Regions from separate parts of the Homo sapiens genome. Here regions 1, 2, 3, 4 and 5 are each linked to region 6. Evidence: promoter capture Hi-C in 16 types of primary human blood cells and fetal thymus (Javierre and others, 2016). All regions are on one chromosome and are shown on one strand. The core of a region is centred on a gene start or on the middle of the fragment in contact, and the rest is flanking DNA. Distances in the headings are between cores, read along the strand shown. Region 1 has its middle 4.3 kb from the start of ZNF706. Region 2 overlaps LOC107984005 (a long non-coding RNA gene). Region 3 overlaps LINC03090 (long intergenic non-protein coding RNA 3090). Region 4 overlaps LOC107984005 (a long non-coding RNA gene). Region 5 holds the start of LOC124901993. Region 6 holds the start of ANKRD46 (ankyrin repeat domain 46).

What was found. Contacts are between HindIII fragments. The CHiCAGO score rates a contact against its expected background, and 5 or more counts as called.
Region 1: a contact is called between a fragment that was not itself captured here and the fragment with the promoter of ANKRD46 in region 6, in 1 of 17 cell types (naive CD4 T cells). The highest score is 7.1, in naive CD4 T cells.
Region 2: a contact is called between a fragment that was not itself captured here and the fragment with the promoter of ANKRD46 in region 6, in 4 of 17 cell types (naive CD8 T cells, naive B cells, naive CD4 T cells and 1 more). The highest score is 8.1, in naive CD8 T cells.
Region 3: a contact is called between a fragment that was not itself captured here and the fragment with the promoter of ANKRD46 in region 6, in 4 of 17 cell types (naive CD4 T cells, naive CD8 T cells, total CD8 T cells and 1 more). The highest score is 7.1, in naive CD4 T cells.
Region 4: a fragment that was not itself captured here is called in contact with the fragment with the promoter of ANKRD46 in region 6 in 1 of 17 cell types (naive CD4 T cells); the score reaches 5.4 in naive CD4 T cells.
Region 5: a fragment that was not itself captured here is called in contact with the fragment with the promoter of ANKRD46 in region 6 in 7 of 17 cell types (total B cells, naive B cells, total CD8 T cells and 4 more); the score reaches 10.3 in total B cells.

What each region holds. Positions count from the first base shown.
Region 1 is chr8:101,208,074-101,211,829 of GRCh38, reverse strand. No RefSeq gene overlaps it. Among named protein-coding and RNA genes, the nearest start is that of ZNF706, 4.3 kb to the right of the region's middle. The HindIII fragment of the contact is 443 bases long and covers 2,178-2,620 here.
Region 2 is chr8:101,288,770-101,292,458 of GRCh38, reverse strand. The region is part of intron 4 of LOC107984005 (a long non-coding RNA gene); the gene reads right to left. Among named protein-coding and RNA genes, the nearest start is that of LINC02844, 28 kb to the right of the region's middle. The HindIII fragment of the contact is 4,404 bases long and covers 1-3,689 here.
Region 3 is chr8:101,137,866-101,142,027 of GRCh38, reverse strand. It overlaps LINC03090 (long intergenic non-protein coding RNA 3090), which reads right to left. Exons shown (of 7, transcript XR_928462.3): 6 at 2,277-2,396; 7 at 1,705-2,163. It also overlaps the pseudogene RN7SKP249. Among named protein-coding and RNA genes, the nearest start is that of LINC03090, 12 kb to the right of the region's middle. The HindIII fragment of the contact is 760 bases long and covers 2,025-2,784 here.
Region 4 is chr8:101,244,570-101,248,578 of GRCh38, reverse strand. All of the region lies in intron 1 of LOC107984005 (a long non-coding RNA gene), which reads right to left. Among named protein-coding and RNA genes, the nearest start is that of LINC02844, 16 kb to the left of the region's middle. The HindIII fragment of the contact is 2,102 bases long and covers 697-2,798 here.
Region 5 is chr8:101,308,808-101,312,755 of GRCh38, reverse strand. It overlaps LOC124901993, which reads right to left and starts at 632. Exons shown (of 6, transcript XM_047422526.1): 1 at 411-632. The HindIII fragment of the contact is 1,308 bases long and covers 1,790-3,097 here.
Region 6 is chr8:100,557,697-100,561,579 of GRCh38, reverse strand. It overlaps ANKRD46 (ankyrin repeat domain 46), which reads left to right and starts at 1,821. Exons shown (of 5, transcript NM_001270377.2): 1 at 1,821-1,869. RefSeq lists enhancers at 1,518-1,657, 1,625-1,919 and a silencer at 1,658-1,827. The HindIII fragment of the contact is 4,322 bases long and covers 141-3,883 here.

The DNA.
Region 1 (3,756 bases), core at 1,150-3,649, 650 kb before region 6:
GAAGTGTCTCTCAACATTCAACTTAAATTTTCATTTAGTCCTCTGTTTTGCTACCCCCACTCATGCTTGCTGCCCCTTCAGTCCAGAAACCCTCTTCTCTCCTAAATCAGTTACCACTTGTTTACTTACTTTGCAGCTTCCAAAATTCTGCTACATTCTTCTCTTCTGTTTTCTTTTCTTCAATGGTAAAGGAGTTTATGCTTTCTTATAAACTCCTTTACCATTATTTTTAGTGGGATTCCAACAAAGGGTAGAGGTAAATGCATGTGTTCAAGCCTCTATCTTTAACTGGATGGCAGGGGTAATCATTTTCAAATACTGGCCTCACGGATTGTCACTGATACTTGTAATTTCATTCACAATCCACTCTCTTATTTCATCCATTTACAGATACTTATTAACTACCTGCTAGGTGCCAGGCACTGTACTAGATGCTGGTTAACAAGACATAACTCAGGACCTGAGGGAGCTCATCTTCTATGGATAAACAGGCAAGTACAACACAGTGAGATAAGTGCTATTTTTAGGGAAGTACATCATAATCTGTGATACCTAGGAGGTCTCCTAACCGAGTTTAAAGGAATCATTCAGACTTACATTCATTCAACAAATATTTATTGGGTACCTACATCATGCCAGATGCTATGCTAAATACAGGCTACACAGGGATAAAAAGAACAGATACAGAACCACCCTTATAGTATACACAGGACCACGGCTCAGCCTCAGGAAAAAGACTGCCAGGAGCCAAATCTTAGCTTTTCTACTTACTAGCTGTGTAATCTTAGATAACTTAGCCATTTTGTACCTCAGCTACATAAGAGTTGTTGAGAAGGTTAAATGAATCAAAATATATAAAGCATATATAACAGTGCCTGGTAGATAGTAAGTACAGCACAGGTGTTACAGGTTATTGTTTTAGGAATCAAATGGAAAGGAGAAATTCTACAAATTTATATATATACACATATACATTATATATACACATATACATTATATATACATATATATGTAAAACATTTCATGAAACAATACATAATATTGCATGATAAATTCAAAGGATGAAAAGTACAAGGACTCCTCATTCAGATGGGGGCTCAAGGAAGGACCTCCTTTCACTTAGCATAACGTTTTCAAGGTTCATCCAAGTTGAGGCATGTATCAGAACCTCATTCCTTTTTATGGCCAAATAATATTTCATTTTATGGCCATACCACAGTTTCTCAGTTCATCACCTGCTGAATATTTGGGTTGTTTCTACTTTTTGGCTATTATGAATAATGCTGCTTAAAATGTACAAACTTTTGTGTGAACGTATGTTCTCATTGCTCTTGGATATATATCTAGGATTGGAATTGTTAGGTTATATGATGACTCTATGTTTATCTTTTGGAAAACCACCAGACTGTTTCTAAATTCTTCACCTCCTCTCCAATACTTGTTATCATCTGTCTTTTCGATTACAGCCATCCCAGTGCGTGTGAAGTATAATACTATCTCATATTTTGATTTGCATTCTTTGATGACTAAGAATGGTGAGCATTTTTTCATGTGCTTATTAGCCATTTGGGCATCTTGTTTGGAGAAGTAGCTAATCAGATCCGTCACCTATTTTTTAATTGGGTATTTGCTTTCTTAGTATGAAGTTGTAAGCATTCTTTATATATTCTAGATAGAAGTCATTTATCAGATATATAATTTGCAAACATATTCTCCCATTCTGTAGGTGGTCTTTTTTTTTTTTAATGGCATCTTTTGAAGCACAAAGTATCTTAATTTTGATGAAGTTCAATTTATCTGTTTTTTTTCTTTTGTCACTAATGCTTTTGATGTCATACCTTAAAAAGCCTTTTTTGGCCTGGCACAGTGGCTCATGCCTATAATCCCAGCACTTTGGGAGGCTGATGCAGGTGGATCACCTGAGGTGAATCACGAGGTCAACAGATCAAGACCATCCTGGCCAACATGGTGAAACCCCATCTCTACTAAAAATACAAAAATTAGCTGGGCATGGTGGCGTGTGCCTGTAGTCCCAGCTACTCGGGAGGCTGAGGCAGGAGAATCTCTTGAACCCGGGAGGTGGAGGTTGCAGTGAGCCAAGATTGCGCCACTGCACCCCAGCATGGCGACAAAGCAAGGCTCTGTCTCAAAAAAAAAAAAAAAAAAAAAAAAAAGCTTTTTTAACCCGTGGTCATACATATTTACTCCTATGTTTTCTCCTAGGACTTTTATGTTTTAGCACTTACATTTAGGTCTTCTATCCATTTTGAGTTAATTTTTGTATATGGTATGAGGATAGGATTCAACTTTATTCTTTTACATGTGGATATCTAGCTATCCCAGTAATATTTGCTGAAGACTCCTTGCCCCATTGAATTTGTTTGGTGCCTGTGTTGAAAATCAATTGACTATACATATGAAGGTTTATTTTTAGACTCTCAATCCTACCTCATTGATTTATATGTCTAATCTTATTCCAGTACCACACTGTTTTAATTACTATAGCTTTGTAATAAGTTTTTAAATTGGGAAATGTGAATCTTCCAATTTTATTCTTTTTTCAAGGTTGTTTTGGCTATTCTGGGCTCCTTGAATTTCCATATAAATTTTAGAATAAGCTTATGTAAAGATACCAGACAGGATTTTGATAGGGGTTGCACCGAATCTGTGGATCAACTTGGGAATTACTGCCATCTTTACAAAGTGTTCTGATCCATGAACATAAGATACCTTTCCATTTATTTAGGTCTTTAATTTCTTTCAACAATGTTATTTAGAGTTTAGAATACAAGTTTTGCACTTCTCTTGGTAAGTTAATTCCTAAGTATTTTATTCTTTTTGGTGCTATTCTAGTAAATCACATTATTTTTTAAGCCTATTTTTAAAGTCTCTGAAATCAAGATGTATCTTAGAATCAAGGATATCAGCATTTTGTCATAGTTCAGTTGGCAGTATTTTTTAATCTTAGTGGACATAAATGTGACTTACAATTAATGGCTCCTTAGACTCAATACAATATGCTATTAAATGTGAATGTCTATAAGACATCAGAGGGGAGATGAGTAGTAGGCATTTGGATATGTCAATTTGGAGATAGAAATGTGGGGGTCACCTGAAGCTTGCTATTTAAAGGCACAACAGTGAATGAGATTCCTTTGGAGAAAGAATATAAAGAAGACAAGAAGATCTAGGTTGCATGTGTGAGAAATCTCAACATGCAGAAGCGAGTGAAAGAGAAAGAGCTGGTAAAAAATAAATAAATAAAAATAAATCCATTTCTGTTCTAAGTTTATTGTTGCCATTATTGCTGTTGCTATTATTTGCCACTAAACATTTGTCAGAATAGTCTGTTTATTGGGAAAATAATATGTTGATTAATCACCAATTCTTTCATCCCCCCAAATCCTACATGAATACAAATAAACAAATAAGCCTTTCAGGTCTTTAGAGAAGCATTTTAATCTGATTGAGATTTTGGATAGAAAATAGGCACATGTTTATTGCATCTTAACCTTGGGTAATTGTCTAAAGGCAGAAGAAGAAAAACAGTCAGGAGAGTTACTGTAGCATTCACAATTAAAGCCAGCAATGTGTATAAAAATGCTTCTAAGGAGTTCATATCACATTTGCTGTCACATTTCTATAACATAAGTAGGACACCAGCTGGTAGTAATGCTAATTCATCCGCCTTTCATTTACTGAGTGTCACTTCACAGATGTTGAATCTTATCCATTCCTTGTTTCTTTTTTTTTTTT
Region 2 (3,689 bases), core at 363-2,862, 730 kb before region 6:
GCCTATGGCTGCTCAAGTCACTGAAGAATGGTGGAAGTGACTGATGCTCTGTGACTTCAGAGGCTAGATCCCAAAAAGGTCAGAGCCTCCATCCACTGCTTGCATTGCTTTCCACCTCTCCTCCCCCTCCAAGCCCTCCCAGTGCTCGCTTTCCAGCCAACATGCAGCGACAAAGTCCAAACAAGTCCAAGTGGAGAGGCCACATGGGGAGGGACTGATGACCTCAGCCAACAGCCAGCATCCACCACCAGACATGTGAATGGACAAACCTTCAGAAGATTCTAGCCTGCAGTCTTCAGGGCTTTCAGCTGAGGCCCCAGACACTGTGGAGTAGAGTCAAGCCAGCCATCCTCTTGTCTCTGCTCCATAGAATTCCTCTGCCCTGATCAAATTCCTGACCCACAGAATGTGTGAGCCTAATACATGGCTGTTTTATGCCACTATGTTTGGGAATGGGGATGCGGGGGGAGGTAATTGTTATGCAACCATAGTAACCAGAGCATAGGTAGCCATTGACACCTAACTGATGAAAGACATCGAAACCAAGAAAATCAGATAATCACTTTGTAAAAATATATCAGTAGCTGTACTCTTGAGTTATGAACTCTGCAGTCTAAGAGCCAAGATAAACACCCTGCCCAAGAATTAGAAATTGCATAATTCCAGATTTCATATGTCTTTACTTGACTAATTCTCCACTACCATCCCCCTAAAGCCGGGGGTGTTCTAGCCAAGGTTGTCCAGGAACCACATAAAGGCCCCCAAACTGTAACCATAAAATCCATCCTCGATTTCCTCTCTTCCTGGGTCTCATCAATGGAAACAATGGTAGTGGTTTTTCAGAAGCCATGTGGGAAGATGGGCTATGAGTGCTATCATAGCAGATGTTAAGGTGCAGTCTCTAGACACGAACTTCCAAGAGTGTGTGCTGGCTGTCATGTCTAACATTTTTAAGTCAGCTAAAATTAGTGCATGTTTAAAAATGTTTAAAAAGTCCCCCTACCCCTCTCCCCATCCCCAGGAGTAATCACTTAACACTTGAGAGGACAGTGGCACATTCATCTGGCACAAGGCCCAGAATGAGACTGCCTGGCTTTGAATCCCAACTTTGCCACCAACTAGCTATGTGACTTTGGCTCCAGCTCTCTCATCTGTCAAATGAGGATAACTTACCTTCCAGGTTTTTGTGAGTTAAATGAGTTACTATAGATAGAGTACTTAAAGTGTCTAACACATACAAGGTCTCGGTGTGGTTAGGCTTTACTACTACTGCTGTGGCTCATACTACTATCACCATCCTCTTTATTACTAGCAGGACTTTCTGTAGCTTTGATGGGCTCAGGAAATGGCAAATGTTGGAAGAAACCCAACATTTCTTCCAGAGGTAGGGAGAGGACTCCCAGACCAGAGGGTGACCCATCTGGGTCCACTGACACTGTGGGATGGGAGGGCCCATATCACAGCTTTGCCTCAGGCTGGTCCTATCCATGCATTTAGGGGGGCTCGTGGGTTATTGAGCCCTTGGTGCATCTCTAGGTGTCACAAATCACATTTCGTAGCTTATTGCAGAAAAGTGAGAGCTAAACATGGTTCAAATATTTGATATAAGAAAAAAAATCGGCTGGGTGCAGTGGCTCACGCCTATAATCCCAGCACTTTGGGAGGCAGAGGCAGGCGGATCCCTCAAGGTCAGGAGTTCAAGATCAGCCTGGCCAACGTGGTGAAATCCCGTCTCTACTAAAAATAGAAACATTTGTTGGGTGTGGTGGCACACACCTGTAATCCCCACTACTTGGGAGGCTGAGGCAGGAGAATGGCTTGAACTCAGGAGACAGAGGTTGCAGTGAGCCAAGATCATGCCACTGTACTCCAGCCTGGACGACAAAAGTGAAACTCCATCTCAAAAAAGAAAAAAGAAAAGAAAAAAAAATCAACAAAACCTGGCATCATCCTAACAGTTTAGGAACTCTAACTAGTTGTGAGAAGAAAATGCACTTACCCAGTCCTTTTCAGGAAAATTCCTTCAGCTTTCATCTCTAGAACTCCATGAGGCTGTCCTTAAAAATACACCTAGTTCCTTCTGCTCACATTCACCATGCTTACTGGAATTAAGGATTCTTCACGCAGGCAATCAGTAAATGCTATGGAGGGAATGTGCCTGCAGCCTCCCGCAACCCACCCGCAATAGCAGCAGAGATGGAAATCTACAGTTTGGTCTTCTCAATAGGGTGGCCCTTGAGGAGCAGTCAGCCTATCCCCTCTGAATAGGTAAATTATCTGATCTTGTGAGCTGAGCATGGCTAACGACCTAGAAATTTCCTTTTTATATCAACTCAGATGCTTTGGCTACAAACAGAAAAACCTGAATAAAAGTCGCTTGAATAATAAGAAAAACTAGTTATCTCACTTAACCAGGAGAAGGAGGAAGTCCCAGGGCTGTCAGCTCTGGGACTCACAATGGTTTAAAGAGTCCAAGAGCTTTTTCATTAAAAAAACTTTTCCAACGTACACTCCTCCCCCATACTTTCTCTTACATGTCATTGGTTAGAGTTGTGTCACATGAGCATGCCAAAACCAATCCCTGGGAAGGAATTACCATGATCGTCTTAGACTCATCAGCACTCAGCTAAAGACTAGCCCAGTGTGGGGACCTGGGAGAACAGGGAGGTCAAGTATGTTGCAGTTAAGAAATTCATTTATCTTTCTTATTCCAAAAAGGCATCTTTGGTGATACATGCAGTTGGATGAGATAACATTTAATAGAATTAAATGATGATGAAGAAGCAAAGGAAACACAAGGCTACATAAAATGAACCCTGAAATATGATCAAGTATCAAAAATACACCCCATGCATCCTCTAAGTTTGCTAAGGGGAGACCACAAACATGGCTTTAGGCGTCAATTCAGGAAGGCTTTTCCAGAGGTTGCAAATGGGTGACTTGTGGGCCAAATGCAGCCCCCAGATATATTCCATTTGGGTTTTTGCAGTATTGTCTGTTTGTTATTGGTTGGCTGTCAGCCTTTAAAAAATTGGAATATTTTATATTTTTTTAAAAATATGTATTTCTGGCTTTTTTGTTTTTTTGAGAGGGACTCCCATTCTTTTGCTCAGGCTGGAGTGCAGTGGCACAATCTCTGCTCACTGCAACCTCCGCCTCCCGGGTTCAAGCAATTCTCCTGCCTCAGCCTCCCGAGTAGCTGGGATTACAGGCATGCACCACCACACCCAGCTAATTTTTTGTATTTTTAGTAGAGACAGGATTTCACCATGTTGGCCAGGCTGGTCTCAAACTCCTGACCTCAGGTGATCTGCCCACCTCGGCCCCCAAAGTGCTGGGATTACAGACAGCCATGATGCCTGACCATCTGGCTTCTCTTGTTTAAAAAAAATCAGAAGATGCAGCAGCACTAGGCCTCTTTCCCACCTGACAGGCGAAAGTAGCTGCCCCTCTAAACCTTACCTGTGCTCCCCACTTCTCCACGTGCCTTACCTGTTGCCTGCATTGTGCCCTGGGCCTTTGAGAGTGTGCCCGAGTTAGACAGCTTACAAGGTCCCTGGGATAGAAGCCAGCCAGTTCCTGACAAGCACAGATGAGCCTCACCAAGTGACCACTGTGGACTGTAACACACGCCCTCAGCTTCATCCTCACTGCAGACCCCTGGAAGAGCTCCCAGGGATTGTCCTTTA
Region 3 (4,162 bases), core at 1,155-3,654, 580 kb before region 6:
GCCAGGGCCAGGTGCAGTGGCTCATACCTGTAATCCCAGCACTTTGGGAGACCAAGGTTGGCAAATCACTTCAGGTCAGGAGTTCGAGACCAGCCTGGCCAGCATGGTGAAACCCTGTCTCTACAACAAATACAAAAATTAGCTGGGTGTGGTGGCACACACCTGTACTCTCAGCTACTTGGGAGGCTGAGACAGGAAAATATCTTGAACCCGGGAGGCAGAGGTTGCAGTGAGCCGAGATTGCACCACTGCACTCCAGCCTGGGCAGCAGAGCAAGACTCTGTCTCAAAAAAAAAAAAAAAATTGTAGCCAGGATGCCACATTAGTAATCAGAAGACTGTTCTGTGGAGCTAGAATAAAAAGCAAGGAAGGTGGATTCAGTCAATGGCATTTTATCCAGGCCATGGTGGACCTGATGATTCGTGTCTTTCTCAACAACAAACTCCTCTCTCCTGCCTGGAAAGCTGCAGCTACTGAATCCAGGTAGCTCCTGGATGGCGCTGAATAGAACCTGCCTGGAGCAGACAATGTTCTTGCTACCCCCTGGCCAATTCTTACTTCTTGCTTCCCCAAAGAACCCTGCCTCTCCTGGTACTTATCCTCCTCGGCCTAGGTAGAGGCTTCAGGGAGGTGCGTCCCATCTGAGGACCCAGGAGATGAATCTTTACTGGTCCAAACAGTGGATCTCCTCCCTGTTGGACCCAGTACCCTCTTTTTATCACAAATATTTTTATATTTTTTTGCCTCAAACTCCTGGGCTCAAATGATCCTCCCAGCTCAGCCTCCTGAGTAGCTGGGACTATAGGCACACACCGCCAGGCTCAGCTAATTTTCTTTTTTTAATTTTTTGTAAGGACAGGGTTTTTTCTATGTCGCCGAGGCTAGTCTTGAACTCCTGGGCTCAAGTAATCCTACCACCTCAGCCTCCCAAAATGTTGGGATTATAGGCATGAGCCACTGCACCCAGCCCTACAAATATTTTATAATGTCCCTTTTACTACACTGAAATGAAATTTGTATACAACATAAACTATCTGTACACATAATTTTAAAAATCAAATAACTATTATGAAGTGGAATTAAAAGAGAAATAATGTACAATAAAACAACATGTATTTCAACATGCAAATTCTTGGCAGAACTGTGCTAAAAGAAATAACATTGCAGGTGCCTGGATCCATACCTAGAATCACAGTCAATGTGGCAGCCACTGGGGCAGGCCCATCGGGTGTATTGTACTGGAGGCTCGAATTCCATGAGTAATGTTGACATTGCTAATGTGATTTTCCAAAACAGTGAACAACTCCTGGAAAAGTTCTAAACAAAACAAAGCAAGATCTTCTCTCGATGTGCACAGCAATTGCTTTCCTGGAAAATACAGTGTGTTTTTTAAATACTTTGGGTTTATATATGAGAGTTTGGTTTTAGCTCAGATCACTTTGAAGATTTTTCATTTGTGCAAATGTTCAATGGGACATTCAAAAATCATGCAGGTCACAGAGTGTGACCATGACCATCCCACACATCGCAGGTTGTCTACCATCTCTAGCCTCTGCCCACTGCATGGTCATAGCCCTCCTTGAATTATTGTGCCAGCCAAAAATGACCCCCTTCACATTTTCACAATGCCCCATGGACCCAAGTGAATCCTGGTGCTCCCATTCCCCCTTTCCCATAATGAAACACAAGGGGAATTCCACTGGAGGCCTTTAGCACAAGGTGTTTCTTTAATACCTGGTAAGAAGAGACACAGGTGAATAAACAGCACCTTTCTCTGCCTATGGTTGTTGCATGAGAATGCGATGTTTGGGGTCTGCAGCCCCCTTGCTAGCTGGGGGCAACCAGCCTGAGAAAGAGGCCAGCACACTGGGCAGGGCAGAGCAGAAAGGGGGAAGGAAGCTGGAGACCAGATGGCTTCAAATGAGCTACTGCAACAGCCAGTCCCGGAACTGCCCCACCTCCAGATATTAAATAAGCGTGCAAGTTGGTAGAGTTGGAACTTTCTGTTCTTACAGCCAAAAGCTTCTTCCTGATAAAAAATACTCACAGCTGGGTGTGTTGGCTCATGCCTGTAATCCCAGCATATTGGGAGGCCAAGGCAAGAGGATCGTTTGAGGCCAGGAATTTGAGAGCCAGCCTGGGCAATGTAGTGAGACCCCATCTCTATAAAAGAGAAAAAAATTTAAATTATTTTTATACAGCACTTATATTATGGCTATTTGAAGACTCCATTTTGGGGTTTAATGCAGAGAATCTGCCTCCTTACTTGGTTTTACCTTGAGAGACAGTGAGGTGATTTGGTTAAGGACAATTTCTGGTTCACATTCCAGGTCAGCTTTCGTAGGCAGTGTAAATTTTAGCAAGTCACTTAATCTTTTGATGTCTCATTTCCTCACCTGTAAAATAGGGACAATAATGGCTTTCAAATTATAGGGATGCTGTAAGAATTAAATTAAACAAGTTACTGCAAGTAAGCACTTCAAACAGTGCCTTGCACATCACTGAGGCTGAATCAATGTTAGCTATGATTACAGAGTATTTTTAGTTTCTTAGTTAGACTTCTTTTGGCCGCATATAACAGAAATTCAACTCAAACTAAATTAAGCAAAAAAAAAAAAAAAAAAAAGAGAGAGAGAGAGAAGTTATTGACAACTGAGGATACCAAGATGGGTTACAGAACAAGAAAGAACAGCTGGAATTTGTGCCCCGGGCTCAAATGTGACCTGGTGCTTCAAGACAAGTGGTTTCTATCCTCAGCTGCTTGTAAGAATCACCAAGAAAGCTTTTAAAAGTCCCAAGGCCTAGGCAGCACCGAAAACCAACCAAATGAAAATTTCTGGGGCTGGGATCCAGGCACCAGTATTTTTTCAAGCTCCGCAGTTGATTCCAATGTTTAGCCAAGGTTGGAAACCACTGCTGTTGAATCTCTGTCTGCCTCTCCTCTCTGCTTCTCTTTTCTTCCTTTCATGCTACAGAAAGCTCTTCCCACCACAGCCTCAGATGTATATCCTTCCATTATAAAAATCTCGATAGAAAAAACAAACAACAAAAAAAAAGTGTTTTCATCCCACCATCCGTATATAAATGGATTTGGCCTATTAGATCTTGCATTCACCCTTTTTATTCTGATCACTGTTGCTGGGGCATGGGGGAATGAACCCACTCCTGCAGCCAGGAAACTTGATGACTCACCAGAAATACTTGGAATGGACACAGGGCAATTCCTTCAAAGATCTAAGAAAATTGAACAGGAAAAATCCAGATACATCATCTAAATAAAGTAAAACTACTTAGACTTCACCTTGGTTGATATAATGTGTTGTCAGCATTATTAGATTCAGCCATTTTTGTAACCAATAAGATTTGGGCTTGATGGTGTCTTGTCTTCACATCTTTTAGCCACTGCAAGTGACGGAGGCTGTCGCTTTGCTAGGATGATTCCTGGGTCTGTCTCTCAACTATCTTGATGGAATTGCAGGCTGTTGATTCTCTAAAACTGCTTACTCACTGACTCCCTGTCATGCCCACGGTTGACTGATCTCATATGTTACCCTCTTGATTTCTCTCCATTTCACTTGGGGATAAAGTCAACTTTAGGTAGGACTTTACTTAGTATTTCAGCTCAAACTGAAATCCATTTTCTCAAACTTTTGGCCCTTCTCCTCCGTTTTACTTGGTGATCTCCAGGTTGGAGTAGCTCTTACGGAAATGCTTTCAGTTAAATTTTTTTTTAACTAAAAGATGATTGAAATTATACATGGAATCTTCAATTGTACTTAATCCACTTGTTCTGAAGCACATGTAACAGATCCTTCTTTAAGACTGGATATTATCAAGAGCTTGTCTGGAGGTTCTAGCAGGGGAGCGCAGCTAGTCTATACCCTTAACCGAAGACCAGTCGTCCTCTATCGGAGATGGTCGTCCTCTTCCACTGAGCGTGCGGCTTCGGGAGGGTGCACATGGAGCAGCAAGGGAGGAAGGAGACACCCGCCTAGCCAGCCAGAGCAGCTGAATCAACCCTGGCAATCAATGGGGTGACAGATGTCTCAGCCAGATCGCCCTCACATCCAAAACTGGATATTATTGAGAACAATAAAACACATTCCCAACCCTCCAGAAAGTGGGGACTTTTTGATCAGTTGGAGGGAAGTGCATTTGAGGA
Region 4 (4,009 bases), core at 498-2,997, 690 kb before region 6:
AGAAAACAAAAACATAATTTTTAGGAGTGTGTTTGATGATTTACCCAGGCATACAAATTAAATTGATTTAATGCAATAAGAACCACACTTTTGCAGCCCAGATATTTTGTTCTTGTTGCTATTAATGTTTAGCTGGAATGTACAAAGTCACAAGGGCAGGGAATATGTTAAATTTTTTCATGTTTCCCTTGGTGTCAAAGTGCTTAGGATATAGTTAGCACTCAACAAATATCTGTTGACTATGAGATTATTATAAATATTGGCACAAAAATTAGGAATGAATACATTACATTACACAAAGAATTCTGGGATATTCTTGGGATGACATCATGATTGTCAGATTTTTTTTCGTCTTTAAATGCTTGTGTATCTCATTGTATCTCATTGCTGACTTACAGAAATTATTTACTCCAGACTTTATTATTTTTACACTGTATTATAAATTCCAAAAGGTTATTTATTTCTGTGTTGTTTACTTCTGTATGCCCATGGCTGGGCCCAAGGCTTAGTACATAGTAAGCACTCCATGAATACAGGTTGTTGCATTTCATTTTTACAACCCAGTAAGACCATTTGCCACCCCGCCATTTAGTGATTGTCAGCACAACTTGTGGTTCTTGCCTAAGAACACTGGCTGGTTTCAAGACTTTGCAGCTAGCTTTAACTCTTAGACAGCAATGAAATATACAACAAGCTTCCTAACACTGGGCCAGATAAGCTCTTAGCATTTATAAATACAGAAACAATCAAAGTGCCAATGAGTATACCAGACAGCTTAGCTCTGGGACTGAACAAATAAGAGTTCTATAAGCACTCAAATAATCAATAAGCCTCCTTCTCACTAATATAAAAAATTACTTTGGCAGCTCTCTCACAAACTCTAGTTTCTCATCTGTGCAGAAAGTATTTTCTGAAGTATTTGTTCTTTTGAGAGCTTACAGATGGCAATGACTTACAAGCCTGTTTAATTCTAGTAACACACTTCATGATCCTAACCAAATTCCAAATGGCATCAGTTGACTAGACTTGAAAACTTGGATGCTCACAAAAATTGCATGCTAAATGCTTGTCAATTACATTCTGAAATAGTAGGCAGAGATGTGGATGGAAAAGGCCTTGAGATACAAGGATGACATGGAGAAAAGGACAGTGATAGGAAGGAACACAGATTGTTTGGATGACATTAAATAGATCAGTATAAATAAAGCAAAGTTTGTGAAGAAGAGATAAGATATGATATATGGATTGGGCTCTTACATGTTTACTCAAAAGCCTTGAATTCCATGTATTAGTTAGATATTGCTGTATAACAAACTGCAATAAAACTCAGTGGCTTAAAACAAAAAGCATTTATTATTGCCCACAATGATATATTATTTCCCACAGTATTGAAGTTATTTTGGTCCTGACTGGGCTCACTCATATTTCTGCAGTCAGGCAGGCTGTTCTGCTGATCTTGGCTGGTCCCTCTCACATTTTTGGTGATTGTCTGGCTGTAGGCTTTTATAGGAAAGAGTTAAATATTGTAGTTCTGATGATGTTGCTCCTCCAAAGGACCTGCTTATAGAGCTGACCCTTGGCTGGTTTCTAGGACCTTTGCTTTTGGAATGCTTCCTATGTTACTATTTATATTAGTTTTCTATTGCTGATATAACAAATTACTATAAACTTAGTAGCTTAAAACAACACAAATATTTTATATATTAGGGCTCTGGAGATTAGAAGTCTAAAATGGATCAGAAGGACTGCATTCCTTCTGGAGGCTCTGGAGAATAATTCATTTTCTTCCTTTTCAAACTTCTAAAGACCATCTGCATTCCCTGGCCCATGACACACTATGGTTTGGATGTTGGACCAAACCTCATGTTGAATTTGATCCCCGATGTTGGAGGTGGGGCCTACTGGGAAGTGTTTGGGTCATAGGATCAGATCCCTCATGAAAGGCTTGGTGTAGGATTTGGAGTAATGAGTGAGTTCTCACACTATTCGTTCCTAAAAGAGCTGGTTATTGAAAAGAGCCTGGCACCTCCCTTCCTCTCTTGCTTACTCTCTTGCCACACAGTCTTTGCACACAGAGGATCCCTTTTGCCTTTTGACATGAGTGGAAGCAGTTTGAGGCCTTCGTCAAAAGCAGATGTTGGTGCCATGCTTCTTGTACAGCTGGCAGAACTGTGAGCCAAATAAACCCCTTTTCTTTGCAAATTACGCAGCCTCAGCTATTCCCTTATGGCAACACAAAAGGACTAAGACATGACCACTTCCTCTATCTTCAAAACCAGCACCAAAGCATTTTCAAATCTCTCCCTCCTTCAGCGGATCTCTGCGCTCTACTTCCTTTATCTTGCCCTTGCTGACTTTAATCCTGAATAATTCAGGAAAATCTTACCATTTCAAGATCCTTAATGTAATCATATGTGCAATGTCCCTTTTGTCATGTAAGGTAACATATGAACAGGTTCTGGGTATAGAAACTTAACCACCTTCAAAGGGCCTTTATTCTATCCTTCTATCTACCACCTAACTGATAAGGCTGTTTGGCATGCCCACGGCACTGAATCCTACCACACCAGCTTGCCTAGAATGTTTATCCAAACACTGTGATTTACACTGGACTGGAATTTCAGTAATTGTGGCTGATCACATAGGCATCCTCTGCCTATTTCTGCAATAAAATCCCAGGACTCTGAGCCTCCAGTCAGCTTCCCTAGTCAGAAATATTGTGTATGTGTTACTTAATTTTATTGCTGGAAGAAAAAGTGTGTTCTGTGTAATCCACCTCCTGCACCAGACACAAAGCTTTGGAAGCCTGCACTTAAACTCCTCCAGACTGATGTGACTTTTTCCCTTGTTGATGCTGTCTTGTATCCTTTGATCACCTATAACCATGAGCACAACTGACTCTGAGTCCTGGGAGTCCTTCTAGTGAGTCATCAAACATGTGGGTGGCCAGAGGACTCCTCCCCCTCCCCCAGACAAGGCTGATCTAAGATTAGACTCAATTGGGACAATGAGGCTCCCCTCTCATGATTTCTCTTCCTCCAGCAGGCTAGTCCAGGCTTGCATTCTCATGAGAGGGTTCTGAAACACAGTGGCAGCTGCAAGGCCTCTTGAGGCACAAGGCAAGCTGATATTCAAGGGAGGGAGAAGTAGATTCTACCTTATGATGAGAGATTTTCAAAAATCTCACTGCAATGGGTATGGATACAGTGAGGTTTTTAGCTGGCAACATCAATTCAGTCCATCTACTATATCCTGTTAAGAGCTTGGACACTCTTCAGTAGTAATGGGGAATGAGAATTACTGTTTTTATAACAGGAAAATAAGATAACAAAAGCAGCACTTCTGGTTCATTAACTGATGGTGAGAGTAAGATGGATTAACAAGCAGGAAGCCGTAGAGACAAAGCAGTTAGAAAGCTGCTGGAATGCACTCATCAGTGATTGGAACACCAGCCAGAAAACCAAGTTATCTATTTGAAAATGGAAGAAAACTATGTTAATCAAGACCAGTTTGGGTAGAGCTTGTAATATTCATACTTTTTCTCTCAAAATTTTTTTTTTTTTGAGACATAGTCTCACTCTGTCACCCAGGCTGGAGTGCAGTGGCAAAATATCGGCTCACTGCAACCTCCGCTTCCAAGGTTCAAGAGACTTTCCTACCTCAGCTTCCCAAGTAGCTGGGACTACAGGTGTGAGCCACCACGCACAGCTAATTTTTTATTTTTAGTAGAGACGGGGTTTCACCATGTTGGTCAGGCTGGTCTCGAATTCCTGACCTCGACTGATCCACCCGCCTCGGCCTCCCAAAGTGCTGGGATTATAGGAGTGAGCCACCGCGCCTGGCCTCCCTCAAGTATTTACTGAATGTGTGCTATATGTTGGGACTGCAACAATGACCAAAATAGACAGGTTTCTTTCACCATGGGGTTTACCTTCTAGCTAGGTGTTTCTAAAAAGGGAACATTTAAGCTGAGCCCCCCCAAATTTACAAGGAGATAGCCCTACTGAAA
Region 5 (3,948 bases), core at 1,194-3,693, 750 kb before region 6:
AAGCAGCAGTCTGCAAAGTATGGCCCATGGACCAACTCCATTGCACTACCTGTTTTTATAAACACAACTTTACTGGAATATAGCTATACCTGTTCATATTATCTATGGCTGTCTTTGTGCTATAAGGACAGAGAGACCATATGGCCCACAAAGCCTAAAATATTTACTATCTGGCTCTTTATAGGCAAAGCTGGCCTTTAACTATCACACCACACTGCTTCCATGGATGGGGTGGAGACGGTGATAAAGTCCAGACCCTGCCCTCGAGAACATCACAGCCTAGTAAAAATAAGAAGCCATTTCAGTGCATCCTGCTCTCACTATATAACATAAAAATAACAATTAACAAAACAACAATGCAGCAATAATGACAATAACAGTAATCATAGCAACATTAGTTGAAGGCTTACTGCGTGCCAGCTGCAGTCCTTAGTTCTTCACACTTAGTAAGTCACTGAATTCTCCCAACGACCCCATGAAATCCGTCCTATCACTGTCCTCGCTTTATATAGCAGGAAACTGAAGCACAGAGTGTTTAACAGTGTTATCCATCACCCCCCGGGAGCACACAGACTGAACCAGGCATTCTGGGAGGGAGGTAGAATTCAGGGAGACAGAAAAGGCAGACACCAACTTAGGACAGTGGAGGCTTCACTGTCCATAAAAATTGATTTGGACTTTTTTCCTTGGTCAATTATAATTAGAAATATAGAAGATACATTTTACTGAGGGGCCTGATCATTAGAAGAAATCTCCTCTGGCAAAGTCTTTAGCAGTAAATCTCACCAGGAAGTACCCTACTTCATCGTCAAACCTCGGTTTCTCATAAGGAAATCTAAGGAGAGTCTCAGGAGATAAAGAATGCCAACAGCCCTGAAATCGCTGCTGTTGGCAAAAATTTTGCTTTAGAACAGCACCTGCCATCAATGGGTGCTCAATACACCCACTGAGTTTTATATTTTGTGATTGAGTTAGTTATATATTTTGTAATTGAGTTATATATTTCATGCACAGTTCCTGAATGGTCTTCTAACTAATCATTTCTGGTACCATGTCAAATGACGGGGCTCCTGTGCCATTTCACAATGAGGAGGAGTAAAGGAGCTGATCGCTATTCCAGTGCCAGGTGCTGGGCCGTGTACTTCAGGTACCCAGCACGTTACCAGGTTTAATACAAATGACAAAATACAGGATTTCTGCTTTCAGCTAGGGACCAGAATTACCTTCCTATCTTAACCAACTGAAAAAATGGACGAACGATATGAAACAATGTTCTTCAGACACTGAAACCTGGCCATATAGGTGATCACTGAGAAAAGGAAAACAAACAAGGTGTGTCCTATGAGTGCCTTAGCTCAGGACTTGGAGCAAGTTTACAGGCTACAGGGTAAGAAAGGTGGCCCCAGACAGAGCCCCGTGGTCCCCTGAGTTGAAGAAACTCAATTCCTAGTAAAGAGAGACAAAGGTGACTAAAATTTGTAGGAAAAATAACAGTGTGACATTATGGGATAACAAGAAATATATATATTTGATCTCTGCCTCCAGTTCCTGACATAGTGCTGCTGAAACCCTTGTAGATGGTGGTGCTAGGAGAGTCTTTTGTTCTAAAATTTGGTCTTTGACCCCAGTTCCCGACCTAGAGCTCCTGCGACCTTTGCAGTTTCCTAAGTGATAAGAATGTCTGACATAGAGCTCCTAAATCCCTTGGAATTTCCGGAGTGGTAGAAGCAACTTTTGTTCTGATTAGGCGATTCTTGGTGGGCTCCTGGATAGCCTGAGGATGGAAGCTTGTTGCTAGGGAAACCAACCATGTAAACAGAGGGTTGAAACTTTCAGTTCCATCCCCCAACCTCTGGGGAGAGTGAAGAGGCTGGAGGTTGAGTTGATCACCAATAGCCAATGAGGGAATCAATCATGCCTATGTAATGAAACCTCCATAAAAACTCACAATGATGGAATTTGGAGAGCTTCCGGATTGCTGAACACATGGAGGTGCCCGGAGGGTGGCACTCCCCTTCCTCCATATTTTGTCTCGTGCATCTCTTCCATCTGTCATTTGTCTGTATCCTTTGTAATATTCTTTGTTTTTGGGGGTTTTTTTTGAGGAATCTCACTCTGTCCCCAGGCTGGAGTGCAGTGGCGCAATCTTGGCTCACTGCAACCTCTGCCTCCCAGGTTCAAGCAATTCTCCTGCCTCAGCCTCCTGAGTAGCTGGGACTACAGGCACATGCCACCACGCCCAGCTAATTTTTGTAGTTTTAGTAGAGACGGGGTTTCACCATGTTGGCCAGGATGGTCTCGATCTCTTGACCTCGTGATCCGCCTGCCTTGGCCTCTCAAAGTGCTGGGATTACAGGCATGAGCCACCACGCCTGGCCTTGTAATATTCTTTATAATAAATGTGTAAATGTAAGTGAAGTGTTTCTCTGAGTTCTGTTGAGCCACTGTAGCAAATTAATTGAACCCAAAGAGGGGGTCATGGGAACCCTGATCTATAGCCAGTCAGTTGGAAGCACAGGTCACAACCTGGGGTTTGCTACTGGCATCTGAAGTGGGGGCAGGGACCAGCAGTCTTCTGGGACTAAGCTCTTCACCTGTGGGATTTGATACTATCTCCAGGTACATAGTGTCAGAATTGAATTGAATTATTGGACACTTAGTTGATGTCTACTGGATAATTGCTTGATGTATGGGGAGAAATCCCCATACATCTGATGTCAGAAATACAGTGTTGAGTGACTGTGCAAGAGAGTAGAAAGAAAAAAACAGGGTTTTCCCTCAAAACAAGGAGTGAGAGAGAGAAAGAACAGGCCGACGTTCTTCAGAGGGATCCCCTTGTATGTATGGTTGTGCTGTACTGATCTCTATATGCAGGGAAGGAGACCACTGAGAATGGGGAAAGAATCACTGAAAAGATGTAGGTGGAACAATTCCAACAGCTCACAGAGACTAGAATAGTTTATATGCACTAGCCTGAGTGGAAAAACCTCCAGATACATAGAGCATTGTACCCATAAGAAGGGTATTGCTTCATAGTGGGACCAAATAAATCAAGAAGTCCTAAAGATTGTTCTGAACTCCCCTTCCTAACAAAGCTTAAAAGCAAGACTTGAAACGTTCAAACTATTTCCAAGTAACTGCATCTCAGAACAGAGCCCAGCAATATTTAAATAATAGTTTAAAAATACTGAGCATTTAACAATGTAAAATTATCATTGTCTAGCACCCAGCCAAAAATTATCAGGCATGAAAAGAAGCAGGAAAATACAACCCATAGACAGAAGGAAAAAACAATCAAATGAAACAGACATAGAATTAAATTAGCATACACGGGTGTTAAATGAGATATTATAAATATACTTCATATGTTCAAAAAGTTAGAGGAAAATCTGAACATCATAAGGAGAGAAATTAAATACACATAAAGGACATAAATAGAACTTCTTATAGATGAAAAATACATTATCAGAAAAGAAAAAACACTGGCTTGGATTAATAGCAGATTAGACACTGGAGAAGTAAATACTAGTGTCTTTAAAGACAGAACAATAGAAATTACACAAAATGAAACCCAGAGAGAAATACGATTTTAAAAAGTATGTAAGAACTGGGCACAGTGGCTCAGGCCTATAATCTCAGCACTTTGGAGGCCAAGGCAGGCAGATCACTTGAGCCCAGGAGTTGGAAACCAGCCTGGGCAACATAGCAAAACCTCATCTCTTCAAAAAATAAAATACAAAAATTAGCTGGGTGTGGTGATGTGTGCCTGTAGTCCCAGCTACTCAGGAGGCTGAGGCAAGTGGATTGATTGAGTCCGGGAGGTCAAGGCTGCAGTACGCCCTGACTGGGCCACTGTGCTGTAGCCTGGGTGACAGAACAAGACCCTGTCTCAAAAAACAAACAAACAAAAAAAATAAGAACTGAGTATCAGTGACCTGTAAGACAATA
Region 6 (3,883 bases), core at 572-3,071:
TACATTTTTTCATATCAATCAAAAGCAGTAATTCATGAAGAGGAAGAGATAAATTTGAATAGAAGTAATGGAGAGGCTCTCAGATTGTTGGATGAGTCAACTAATGAAGAGTAAATCTTATTAATACATTGGGAAAAGCTTTAATTTCCTTGCTAATTTGTCATAGTTTATAGGCATCAGTGAAGATATTATAAACTCAATACACAACCAGAAGGAGGACATCAATAACAAACTGATTAATAAATGTCATCAATTTAACAAGTAATATTGCTGATTAGTCATAGCACAATAAAATGTGAAATGCCCTAAGATCTTATAACTTTTTTTTTTTTGAGATGGAGTCTTGTTCTGTCACCCAGGCTGGAGTGCAGTGGTGAGATCTCGGCTCATTGTGACCTCCGCCTTTTGGGGTTCAAGGATTCTTGTGCCTCAGCCTCCTGAGTAGCTGGGATTACAGGTGTGCAACACCGTGCCTGGCTAATTTTTGTATTTTTGTAGAGCCAAGGTTTCACCATGTTGGTCCGGCTGGTCTCGAACTCCTGACCTCAAGTGATCTGTCCACCCCAGCATCCCAAAGTGCTGGGATTACAGGTGTGAGCCACCGTGCATGGCCAGATCTTATAATTCTTACATGAAAGAAATGTAATAGTGATTTCCTCTAATATGACAATAGTCCTAAACCTTTACATGACACTTTCAAGAACAAATTATTAGATGGTGTAGGTGGTCCTTGAATGAATGAACCATGAGATACCCTAGAGCAGGGGTGTCCAATCTTTTGGCTTCCCTGGGCCACATTGGAAGAAGAATTGTCTTGGGCCACACATAAAATACACTAACACCAGCAATTGTTGATGAGCTAAAAAAAAATTGCAAAAAAAAAAAAACTCATAATGTTTTAAGAGAGTTTATTAATTTGTGTTGGGCTGCATTCTAAACTGTCTTGGCTGCATGCAGCCTGCAGGTGTGGGCCAGGGGTTGGACAAGTTTGCCATAGAGCGTGGCTTGGTTGGATGAGGGTGCTAGAATTCAGAGGACGGTCACTGTGCAGTGAGAGTTGTCTTGGCTGTAGGACTGGAGTTGGTAAAATGAAAAAAAGAAAAAACTAGTTTTGCATGAAAGAATGTTTCCAGCATATGAATGTCCCACCACACTTTTAGTTAGTCTTGGCTGTACATGTTGCAATAAGTCAAGGAACCCTACAAAGTAGGATGGAAGGATTCAAACTGCGAATCGCTTGAACCCGGAAGGCGGAGTTGGAGTTTGCAGTGAGCCGAGGTTGAGCAACTGCACTCCAGCCTGGGCGACAGAGTGAGACTCCGTCTAAAAAAAAAAAAAAAAAAAAAGATTCAAACTGCTTTTGAAAAAAGTAAAAATGCAGGGTTATATTTTAGAAATAGTGCAGCCAATCATTAGTGGCTATTCCTAATATGTCAATTTCGGGTCTATAGAAGACCTACCTAGAGGCCAGCAACTATTAATTGATGCTTATAGCACCTAATGAAACTGCCCTTGCCTTTGAAGCCCCCATTTAGCTAAGGGGATGGGATGTGAATTTAGAATAGGACGTGAAAAGTGCAAAATGCTCCCGGACTCAGATCGGATAAACCTCTTCTAGGCTGTCTTTCTCTTCTGAAGCCACAGTTTTGATGCTTTCCCTAATTCAGAGCAGGCTTTCCCGGAGTCTCTGACTCAGAGCAGCCCGAGCCACCGTGAGGACCGCCCACCTGCAGGGGGCGCGCCGGGGGCTGCAGCGCGAGACCGCTCTGGCCCAGCGGGGACTCCGACTACCCCTGTCTGGCCCCTCCCCTCCGCCCGTCACCGCCTCCTTGAAGCTGCCGCTGTCGCTGCTGCTCGTTCGAGTCGCAGGTACTTGGCCCGGGGCCTGTGGGCAGCGCCTGGGCTAGAGCCACTTGATATCTCCTGCACCGTCCCTGTAGCACTGGAGGTCCAGTAGGCCTGGCCGGGGCCCTGAGGGGCGAGGGTGCCCGGGCTTCCCACACCTTCCGCGGCGACTGGAGGGAGCCGGGCCGAGGAAGCGACCGCGGGTCCGTGATGGCTTCTTCGCGGTCTGTGTGTTCACGAGGGCCGGGCAGAGGCCTGCGAGGGTTCTCGTTTGCGCTTGCGGGTTAGGGCTGTGGTCCGGGGAACCCCTGGGCAGCGCGGGCAGCCCTGGCTCGCGGTTAATCGGGGGGTGGAGCGCGGAAGCCACGCCGCAGGTCCAGCTGCTCGGCCGGGGCGAGACGGTGCTTTCGCGGCGTGTGCTTGCAGGAGCGCACAGTTCAGGCGCCGGGACAAGCTGTTGGGGTGTGAGTGAGCTCTCCAGAATGGCACATGGCTCCGGGGTGCCCGGGTTAAAAGGAAGGATTTGCACACCTTCCACTTAGGGCTCGGGTAATCGCAAACTTCCTCCCTTAATTGGCTTGCAGTGCTAAAAAGCAGATCGTTCTCTCTGAGGTTTTCCCAACAGTACCTCAAGAAAATAACATCTGTTTTTTGTAACGTTCCACGGTATTCGGAATTGGCTACAGAACATAATAAGGTAAAAATATGCCATTGAATAGTAGCGCTTCTCAATCTTTAAAAAATGACGGTGGTACCTAGGAGCCTCTTAAAGAGCTGTAATATGAGTGGTGTGGGGATTATTTTTATGTTCTAGTAATAGCTATTTTCAGTGCTTATTTTATGTCAGACACGGTGCCATTGCTTTAAATACCTGGTACCTTTAATCCTTGAAGCAACCCTATCAGGTACCATTTCCATTATACAGATAAGGAAACTGAGGCACCGAGAGTCTGACTTCTCCAAGGTCAGAAAGCTAGCAAAGGCTGAGCGAGATTTGGTCTCATCTCCCTTACTTCAGTATCCCTGCGTCTGTTATCTAGCCAAACATGTAGCGCTGTCTAAGAGTTTTATCAATTAGATTTGTAGCCTGAACTGATTTCTCTCAGGCTTAGTTTTCATGGTTATATGCAGGAGTCCTACATGAACTCCTTTTTAGTTTAAAAGGAGTTTAGTAAGAAAACTGTTAGCTCATTAAGGACTATAGTGATAATAAAGTTAAACTTGGACTGGGGTTCTCACTGTGCCAGTACAATTTGATTTGAAATAGAGATGAATTTGTTTGGTTGTTAACACACTTTATTACATTTCTTCATTATTTATGTTTCCATACCATTTTTTAGTGAGTTCACTTTGCCTTTGCATTATTATGGTAGCAGTACCAGAGGGAAATCAAAGATTTTTTGATGATAGTAAGTTAATATTTTACAGAATACAGGAAAGGCACTGGAGAGAGGATGTGAAGTGATAAGGAATTTTTGGCATGTTATATAAATTGTGTTACTATGGAAAACAAAGGATTCTCACAGTTCTTTATCAAAAGGGAAATTGTATTTCCCATTGTGGAAATAAGTTGGGCTTTATAGTCCCAAACTTCTTAGCCTTACCTATTATAGATTTAAGAATTTGCATATTCGGCATTCATATAGCAAGCGTATATTGAGTGCCTTCTATGGCCAGGCTCTGTTCTAAGCACTGGGGGATGTGAGAGTGAACAAAATGAAGTCCTTGTCTTCCAGGAGCTAACATGTCACTGGAGGAAGGTGGGGTTGGGGACGATAAGCGGGATTTGTGAAAGTTAACGTATCTGGAGTCAGATGGTAACAGTTACTAGGAATAAAAATAAAGTAGCAAAGGGGGATAGGAAGCACCAAGGAAGGAACAGGTGCAGTTTTAAAATAAGGACTGGTGCCATGGAAAAGACTCAAGCAAAACTGAAGGCGTTGGGGACCGCCATGCAGCTGTCTAGGGAAAGAGCATACCAAGCAAGGGCAAAAGCCCAGAACCCTTCAGTCTTGTTAGAGGGACAGCAAGAGAGGAA